2 separate regions of the Homo sapiens genome follow, and region 1 is linked to region 2. The links are contacts of gene promoters, found by promoter capture Hi-C in human tissues and cell types (Jung and others, 2019). All regions are on one chromosome and are shown on one strand. The core of a region is centred on a gene start or on the middle of the fragment in contact, and the rest is flanking DNA. Distances in the headings are between cores, read along the strand shown. Region 1 has its middle 12 kb from the start of CYP1A1. Region 2 holds the start of EDC3 (enhancer of mRNA decapping 3).

What was found. The method cuts DNA at HindIII sites, captures the fragments that hold promoters and counts their contacts. A contact is called where the count stands out against the background at its distance.
Region 1: a fragment that was not itself captured here is called in contact with the fragment with the promoter of EDC3 in region 2 in 5 of the 25 tissues and cell types used here (heart right ventricle, lymphoblastoid cells, mesenchymal stem cells and 2 more).

Annotation. Positions count from the first base shown.
Region 1 is chr15:74,735,015-74,739,305 of GRCh38, reverse strand. No RefSeq gene overlaps it. Among named protein-coding and RNA genes, the nearest start is that of CYP1A1, 12 kb to the right of the region's middle. The HindIII fragment of the contact is 3,761 bases long and covers 458-4,218 here.
Region 2 is chr15:74,693,074-74,697,350 of GRCh38, reverse strand. EDC3 (enhancer of mRNA decapping 3) reads left to right here and starts at 1,327. Exons shown (of 7, transcript NM_025083.5): 1 at 1,327-1,471. RefSeq lists an enhancer at 1,278-1,367. The HindIII fragment of the contact is 33,216 bases long and covers 1-4,277 here.

The DNA of each region.
Region 1 (4,291 bases), core at 1,089-3,588, 41 kb before region 2:
CTGCCACCATGCCCGGCTAATTTTTTTGTATTTTTAGTAGAGACAGGGTTTCACTGTGTTAGCCAGGATGGTCTTGATCTCCTGACCTCGTGATCTGCCCGCCTCAGCCTCCCAAAGTGCTGGGACTACAGGCGTGAGCAATAGCACCCAGCCTATTATTATTATTATTTTTTGAAGATGAAGTCTCACTGTCACCCAGGCTGGAGTGCAGTAGTACGATCTTGGCTCACTGTAACCTCTGCCTCCTGGGTTCAAGTGACTCTCATGTCTCAGCTTCCCAAGTAGCTGGGATTACAGGTGCATGCCACCACTCCTGGTTAACTTTTGTCTTTTTAGTAGAGACAAGGTTTCACTATGTTGGCCAGGCTGGTCTTGACCTCCTGACCTCAAGTGATAACCCCACCTGGGCCTCCCAAAGTGCTGGGATTACAGGCGTGAGCCACCGTGTCCAGCCTAATTTTAATTTTTAATTTTTGTGGGTACATAGTAGGTGTATATGTTTATGGGGCACATTAAATATTTTGATACAGGCATACAATGTGTAATAACCACATCGGGTTAAATGAGGTATCCATCATCTCAAACATTTATCCTTCCTTTGTGTTACAGACATCTATTCTTTCAGTTATTTAATAATGTACAATAAATTTTCATTGACTAATATGGTTTGGCTGTGTCCCCACTTAAATCTCATCTTGAATTCCCACATGCTGTGGGAGGGACCCAGTGGGAGGTAATTGAATCATGGGGGCAGGTGTTTCCTGTGCTGTTCTCGTGATAGTGAATAAGTCTCATGAGATCTGGTGGTTTTAAAAAGGGGAATTTCCCTGCACAAGCTGTCTTCTCTTGTCTGCCACCATGTGAGATGTGCCTTTCATCTTCTGCCATGATTGTGAGGCCTCCCCACCCACGCGGAACTGTAAGTCCATTAAACCTCTTTCTTTTGTAAATTGCCCAGTCTCGGCTATGTCTTTATCAACAGTGAAAACGGACTAATACATTGACTGTAGCCATCTTGTTGTGCCATCAAATACTAGATCTTATTCATTCTTTCTAACTATATTTTGTACCCATTAATCATCCCTACTCCCTCCCTGCTCCCACTACCCTTCCCAGCCTCTAGTAACCATCATTCTCCTATCTCCATGAGTTCAACTGTTTTAATTTTCAGCTCTCAAATAAGTGAGAACATGTGAAGTTTGTCTCCCCGTGCCTGGCTTATTTGACTCAACATAATGACCTCCAGTTCCATCCGTGTTGCTGCAAATGACAGGATCTCATTGGTTTTTTTTTTTTTTTTTTGAGACGGAGTCTCGCTCTGTCGCCCAGGCTGGAGTGCAGTGGTGTGGTCTCGGCTCACTGCAAGCTCCGCCTCCCGGGTTCACGCCATTCTTCTGCCTCAGCCTCCTGAGTAGCTGGGACTACAGGTGCCCGCCACCATGCCCGGCTAATATTCTGTATTTTTAGTAGAGACGGGGTTTCACCGTGTTAGCCAGGATGGTCTCTATCTCCTGACCTCATGATCCGCCCTCCTACGCCTTCCAAAGTGCTGGGATTACTGGCGTGAGCCACTGCGCCCGGCCGGATCTCATTCTTTTTACAGCTGAATAGCACTCCATTGTGTATATGCACTATATTTTCTTTACCTATTCATCTGTTGGTGGACACTTAGGTTGCTTCCAAATCTTAACTTTTGTGAACAATGCCGCAGTCAACATGGGAGTGCAAATATCTCTTTGACATACTGATTTCCTTTCTTTGGGTGTATACGTAACAGTGGGATTGCTGGATCGTATGGTAGCTCTATTTTTAGTTTATTGAGGAACCTCCAAACTGTTCTTTGTAGTGTTTACACTGATTTACATTTTCAACAGTGTACGAAGGTCCCCTTTCCTCCACATCCTCTCCAGCATTTGTCATTGCCTGTCTTTTGGACAAAAGCCATCTTAACTGGTGAGAGGATATCTCATTGTAGTTTTGATTTGCATTTCTCTGATCAATGATGTTAAGCACCTTTTCATATACTTGCTTGCCATTTGTATTTCTTCTTTTGAGAAATGTCTATTCAGATCTTTTGCCAGATTAAATTTAAAAGCCAGATTATTAGACTTTTTCCTGTTGAGTTGTTTGAGCTCCTTATATATTCCAGTTATTAATCCCATGTCAGATGGGTAGTTTGCAAATATTTTCTCCCATTCTGTGGATTGTCTCTTCACTTTGTTGATTGTTTCCTTTGCTGTGCAGAAGCCTTTTAACTTGATGAGATCTCATTTGTCCATTTTTGCTTCAGCCTGTACTTGTAAGATATCACTCAAGACATCTTTGTCCGGGCCAGGCAAGGTGGCTCATGCCTATGATTTCCAGCACTTTGTGAGACCTAGGCAGGAGGATAGCTTGAGCCCAGAAGTTTGAGACCAGCCTGGGTAGCATAGTTGAGACTGTGCCTCTACAAAAAAAAAAAAAAAAAAAAAAAAGAAAGAAAAAAAGAAAAGAGGAATTTTTGTCCAGTCCTGGAGAGTTTTCCCAATGCTTCCTTTTAGTAATTTCATAGTTTGTGGTCTTAGATTGAAGCCTTTAATCCATTTTGGTTTTGATTTATGTATATGGTGAGAGACAGGGGTCTAGTTTCATTCTCATGTGTCTCTTTGAAGAGTGAAGAAAGCTTCTCCTAAAAGTTGTCCCAGCAGATTTTTTCCCATATCATTGGCCAGAATCATGTCACAGATCTATGTTTAATTAAATCACCAGCAAGACAGCCAGGGCAACAATGACTGGTTCAGATCAGCCAAGACCCACTCTGTGAGGCTGGGGCTGGGGTCAGCTTCCCCTAAAGCACATAGTTCTAGAAAGGAAGATGGAGGGTTCCTAGACAAAACAAGAGCGGTGAGTGCTAAGGAGGAAAAATCAAGATTGGGAGGAAGGGCTATTGGGTGTCTACAAGTGATGGAGCAGTTGAGTTGGAAAAGGATTCGTAAGTTGGCTGAGTGGCCCTCACTGGCTGGACACCCCAGTGGATCTGAATAGGCTACCTCCTTGGCAAAGACCATGGGAGCATGTATGTCTCAGTCTGTTCTCGGTTGCTATAACAGGATACCACTGACTAGGTCAGGCGTGGTGGCTCACACCTGTAATCCCAGCACTTTGGGAGGTTGAGGTAGGTGGATTACTTGAGATCAGGAGTTCCAGACCAGCCTGGCCAATATGGTGAAATCCCCGTCTCTACTGAATAAATGCAAAAATTAGCCGGGTGTGGTGGTGCATGCCTGTAATCCCAGCTATTTGGGAGGCTGAGGCAAGAGAATCACTTGAACCTGGGAGGTGGTGGTTGTAGTGAGCCGAGATCACACCATTGCACTCCAGCCTGAGTGACAGAGTGAGGCTCAATCTCAAAAACAAACAAACAAACAAACAAAACAAGCCAAAACACCAAAACACAGAGGGGGACATTACATGGTAAGAGGGCAAGAGTGTGGTGTCAGCTCAGGTCTCTCTTCCTCTTCTTATAAAGCCTCCAGTCTCATCATGGGAGTACCACCTTGATGACCTTATCTAATCTTAATTACTTCCCAAAGCCCTCACTACCTTTAATCAACATATGAATTTTGGGATTATGTTTCCAACACATGAAAATTGGGGCGCACATTCTAACCAGGGCGGAACACTTCTAGGAGCACTTGGCTGATAGAGAAGTGTCCCCAGAGGCTCTGCTTTGATTGAGGACATGAATGTTCATTATCAACAAACATCAGTGTTTATATGTAAAGAGGCATTACTAACTTGGAAACAGAGTGTTCCTCTGATCATGCCGAACATGCCCTTCAGTAGCTCAAACATTCCCCTGCAAGGCTTATTTCATAATTCATTGGCTTGGGAAACATTTGTGCAATAATAAACTGCTAACCTGAGAAGAATTAGTCAAATTCTCATCTATAATATGGACCTAAATTAATCATATTTGATGTTATTAAAGGCAGAAGAGAAAGGAAAAAGAAGATCTCCTTTCATCTCCACTGCCCTCCATCTAGGGTCAGTCCAGAAGCTCTGGGCCACCTGCTCCCCAGCTTTCTCTGGGCAGCATCCCGGAGGCTGGATCTTCATAGCCCTTCCCCACCCACCAAAACATGGAGGATTTTTGTCCCAATCCTGCTGAGAGCAGCTGCAGAGCCTGATCTCCCCTGATTACTGTGGTGTATCTGGGGTGTGTAGAGAGAAGCCATCCTGTTGGGAGGAACCTGGAGACTTTAAAATTGGAGGAGGTTGGGAAAGTCTGAGGATCATGGCCATGTGGTTG
Region 2 (4,277 bases), core at 78-2,577:
AGCTATCAAGCCATGAAAAGACATGGAAGAACTTTAAGTGCATAAGTGAAAGAATCCGATGTGAAAAGGCTGCATACTGTATGATTCCAACTATATGGGATTCTGGAAAAGGCAAAACTATGGAGACAGTAAAAGGAGCAGTGGTTGCCAGTGGTTAGGGGACTGAGAAGGATAAATAGGCAGAGGACAGAGGATTTTCAGGGCAGTGAAACTATCGTGTATGATACCATAATGGTGGATACATGTCATTACATATATGTCAAAACCCACAGAATGTGCAACACCGAGAGTAAACTCTAATGTAAACTATGGACTCTGGGTGATAATGATGTGTCAAAGTTGGGTAATCAATTGTTACCAAATGTACCACTGTAGCACAAGATGTCCATGAGGGGACAAGTTGTGTATGTGCCTGTGTGTACAGGGGATATATGGGAACTCTGTACTTTCTGTTCAGTTTTGCCCTGAACCAAAAACTGCTCTATAAGTGTTCATTAATAACAGTAATTTTAAAAGACAAGGACCCCTTCTGACCTAGGGAATCTCTGGTGATGGAGGGGGAAGGGTGAAGCAGTCCCCTAGAAAGTGTAGATTTTACAAAGTTCTTCAACTGATTTTGTAGAGCTAGGTTTGGAACTGCTACCCTACTCTATGCTATTCGCCCAAGTAGTGGTTCCCAAACCAGGTGTCAGGCTTCAAGGCTGTGCAATATTCCTCATTACACGGTCTTGGCCCTAAACGCATGCTTTCCCGTCTCCCCACAAATCAAGACTCTAAAATGCCAGGGGTAGAAGAGCGGCACTTTCCTGTGTACTGAGTATGGGGGAAGGGAGAGCAGTCAAGCACGGACTGGCTGATTTTAACCCCCAAAAGGGCTGAAGCTGATACGCTTTGAAGATCGACCACGGCAGGAATATCTTGTTTTCTTTAATCCATCAGGGGGTTGTCGCACTTATTAAGTCCCACAGCTGCAGTTTAGCACGGAGGGGCTGTCACGTCACCAGGCCTCCCTGAAAGTCCTCCGCTCCAGCTCTGCGATTGGCGCTGGGGTAACAGGAGGGGAAGCGGGTGCTTTTCATCGAGCCTGCAAGAGGGGGGCCCAGGCATCGAGGCTGGGGAGTCGTGGGTAGAGCCCCGATTCCAGCCAAGACGCCACAGGACATAAGTAAGCGTGGAGGGCAAAATGACTACCCAAGCGCAATTCTGTAAGGCCGAAGGGACGTTCTTCCAACCTCTTAAATTTCCCGGGTGCCACGCCCCTCAATTGACGGCCCTGGATTCCAAGGTGTCGCGCCGGAAGTGACCTCACGGTGGTGGCGTGGAGACGTGGGGGCGCTTCCGGCAGCGGCGGCGGTGGTGAAGGCCGATGCTGTGGGGGTGGGCGTGGAGAGAATTCTTCTGTGGGTCCTCTGGTGTTGAGTGGTCGGCTTGGTGTGGTGTGCGGAGGAGCTCCAGGCCCGTCGGCGCGGAGGTGGGAGCGAAGGGAGGCTACTGGTTTGTGGACGGTCGTGGGAGGGGGCTGCCGGGGTTGCTTTAGGCTTCAGAGTTCCAGGCCTCGTAGACCTTTATAGAGGCAGGCAGGCAGGCAAGAGCTGGGGGCTTCATCGGATGAGCAGGGGACCACGTACTACGGGCGGCCCCAGGAGTTTGGTTTGAGGTGGAAGGCTGAGGACTGCAGGATTCTAAATAGTATGGGGATTGTGTGGGGAGTGAGGCATTAGCTGCTTGGGCCCTTAGTCCAGCCTTGTTGGTGGCTGCTGCAGTTCTTTGGCTCACTCACTCTGTTCTTCGTGCCTCAGTTTCCCTTTGCATAATGAGATACGGTGGCAGAGAAGAACGCCAGTGCCACATCCATGACTGATAGCTTGAGGACGGAGATGAACTGGAGGGTAGAAAAAGAGGATGCCTGAGAAATTTATACCTACCAGGTCACATCTTCGAATCCCAGGAAGTTATCCCTGGATTCATTTCTGCCTTTGATGCAAGTCTGTGGTTCTTTTCAGTACACTTTGTGTGATATTGATTGTATGTATCAATACTTGACTTGCTGAGTGGTTAAAGTGTTTTGGTTTGTGGGAGGCATAGTCCTTGTTGGCTTGGTCAGTTAATTTTCAGTTAATCTCCCAATAGCAATTGCTTCGCCTAACTCTTCAATTGGGAGATTAGTTGAAAATCAACTGACCAAGCCAACAGTCTTCTCCTGTGGTTACAGGTGAGGAACTCGCGACCCAGAATGGTTTTTCTTCTCTTCCTTCGCCACAGACCAAACCGATTTCAGTCTGCTGTCTCAAATACAGGTCTTCACCCCACCAAAACAGAAATGGCTGTCTCCAAGCAGTTTAGTATTTCAACTGGACACCCAGATGGATCCTAATCTTTTTTTTTTTTTTTAATGAATGGCAGATTACGTGTACTGAGCACAAAATCCTCTTAGCTAGTTTCTCTGTATGATGTAAAAACATGACATTTTGTTTATTACCAATTTCTTGGTAGAGCCTCCTTGGCATAGGGCTGTGGGGCTAGAAAAGTGTCTCAAAATTTTTTACCTGTGACCCACAGTTAGATATATTATACATCATGACTTATTGTGCCCCTGCACACTCAGTGTGTACACACACACACACACCAATGAAAAGTTTACTTACCCTTTCTACAGAAGATGCACTCTAAAAAAATATTGGTTGCAACTCACTAAATTGAGTCTGACCCCTAATAGGTCATGACGTATAGTTTGAAAAATATTAAGGCCGGGCACTGTGGCTCACGCCAGTAATCCCAGCACTTTGGGATGCTGAGGCGGGTGGATCACCTGAGGTCAGGAGTTGGAGACCAGTCTGGGCAACGTGGTGAAACCCCGTATGTACTAAAAATACAAAACTTAGCTGGGTGGTGGTGGGTGCCTATAATCCCAGCTATTTGGGAGGCTGAGGCAGGAGAAACGCTTGAACCTGGGAGGGAGAGGTTGCAGTGAGCCAAGATATGCTACTGCACTCCAGCCTGGGCAACAAGAACTAAACTTCTCAAAAAAAGAAAAGAAAAGAAAAATATTAGACTAGGGCCGAGTGCAGTGGTGGGAGGATTGCTTAAGGCCAGCCTGGGCAACATAGCAAGACTCTGTCTAAGAAAAACAACATTAGAAAATGTTTAAAATCCTTGCCATTTGTGAGATTCTGTAATTAATACAAAATGGAAGATGTATCATTTTTCTTTTCTTATCCAGAGAAGGGCTTACTAGAGTTCTCCTAAATTCAGCCAGAACAACAGGACAGGACATCCAAATTGTGGCTCAAAGGAGTGTAGTGACCATAATGATAGTGTGTCAGAATTTTAGCAAGGCATTTATGAAGTTTTTGTTTTTTTTTTTGAGATGGAGTCTCACTCCATTGCCCAGGTTGGACGGAGTGCAGTGGTGCAATTTCTGCTCACTGTAACCTCTGCCTCCTGGTTCAAGCGATTCTCCTGCCTCAGCCTCCCAAGTACCTGGGACTACAAGCATGCACCACCACGCCTGGCTAATTTTTGTATTTTCAGTAGAGATGGGGTTTCACCATGTTGGCCGGGCTGGTCTCGAACTCCCGACCTCAGGTGATCCACTCACCTCAGCCTCCCAAAGTGCTGGGATTACAGGTGTGAGCCACCGCGCCTGGTCTTACTGAGTCTTACTATAACTGAGTGGGCGAGATGGAGGAATTTGCCAGATTGTGGTAGTTAGATGGAGTCATGAGTTTGAAAATCTATGTATGGAGAGGTTTGATTTGTGGACACTACTTACAGCTGGAATTCCGGTGATCTAAACTGGGGTTTCATCACTTTCTTTATATACTTCATGTATTTGAGACCTTATCTAGAAGGTTTGCTTATTGGATTTGGTGCCTTTGTGAAGTAAAGAAAGAGTCATTTGGTTGGTGATTGCCAGAATGGGAAAAGATCTCAATATAATTTGCTCAGTGCTGTTTAATGAAATGAAGGAAGCATGTATAAATGTGAGAAATTGCGCTTGGGTCCAAACAAAATCAACTATACCTATTAGGGGAGGGTGGAGATGTGACCTCACAGGAGTTCTATAATAAAAAGATGTGATGTTTTAATCACCAATCAGTGGTGTGGTTAAGAAGGCTGTGAGAAGAACCGATGTGACCTGCATTAGTATATTGTATCAGGAAAATGCAAAATCTAGAATGAGAAAGGTTGCATCACTGGTAGGCTTGTACCTGGAATATTAGGTTTAGATCTAGATGTGCTAAGAGTAAATTTATGGGCAGAAGTCAAAAGTTTGA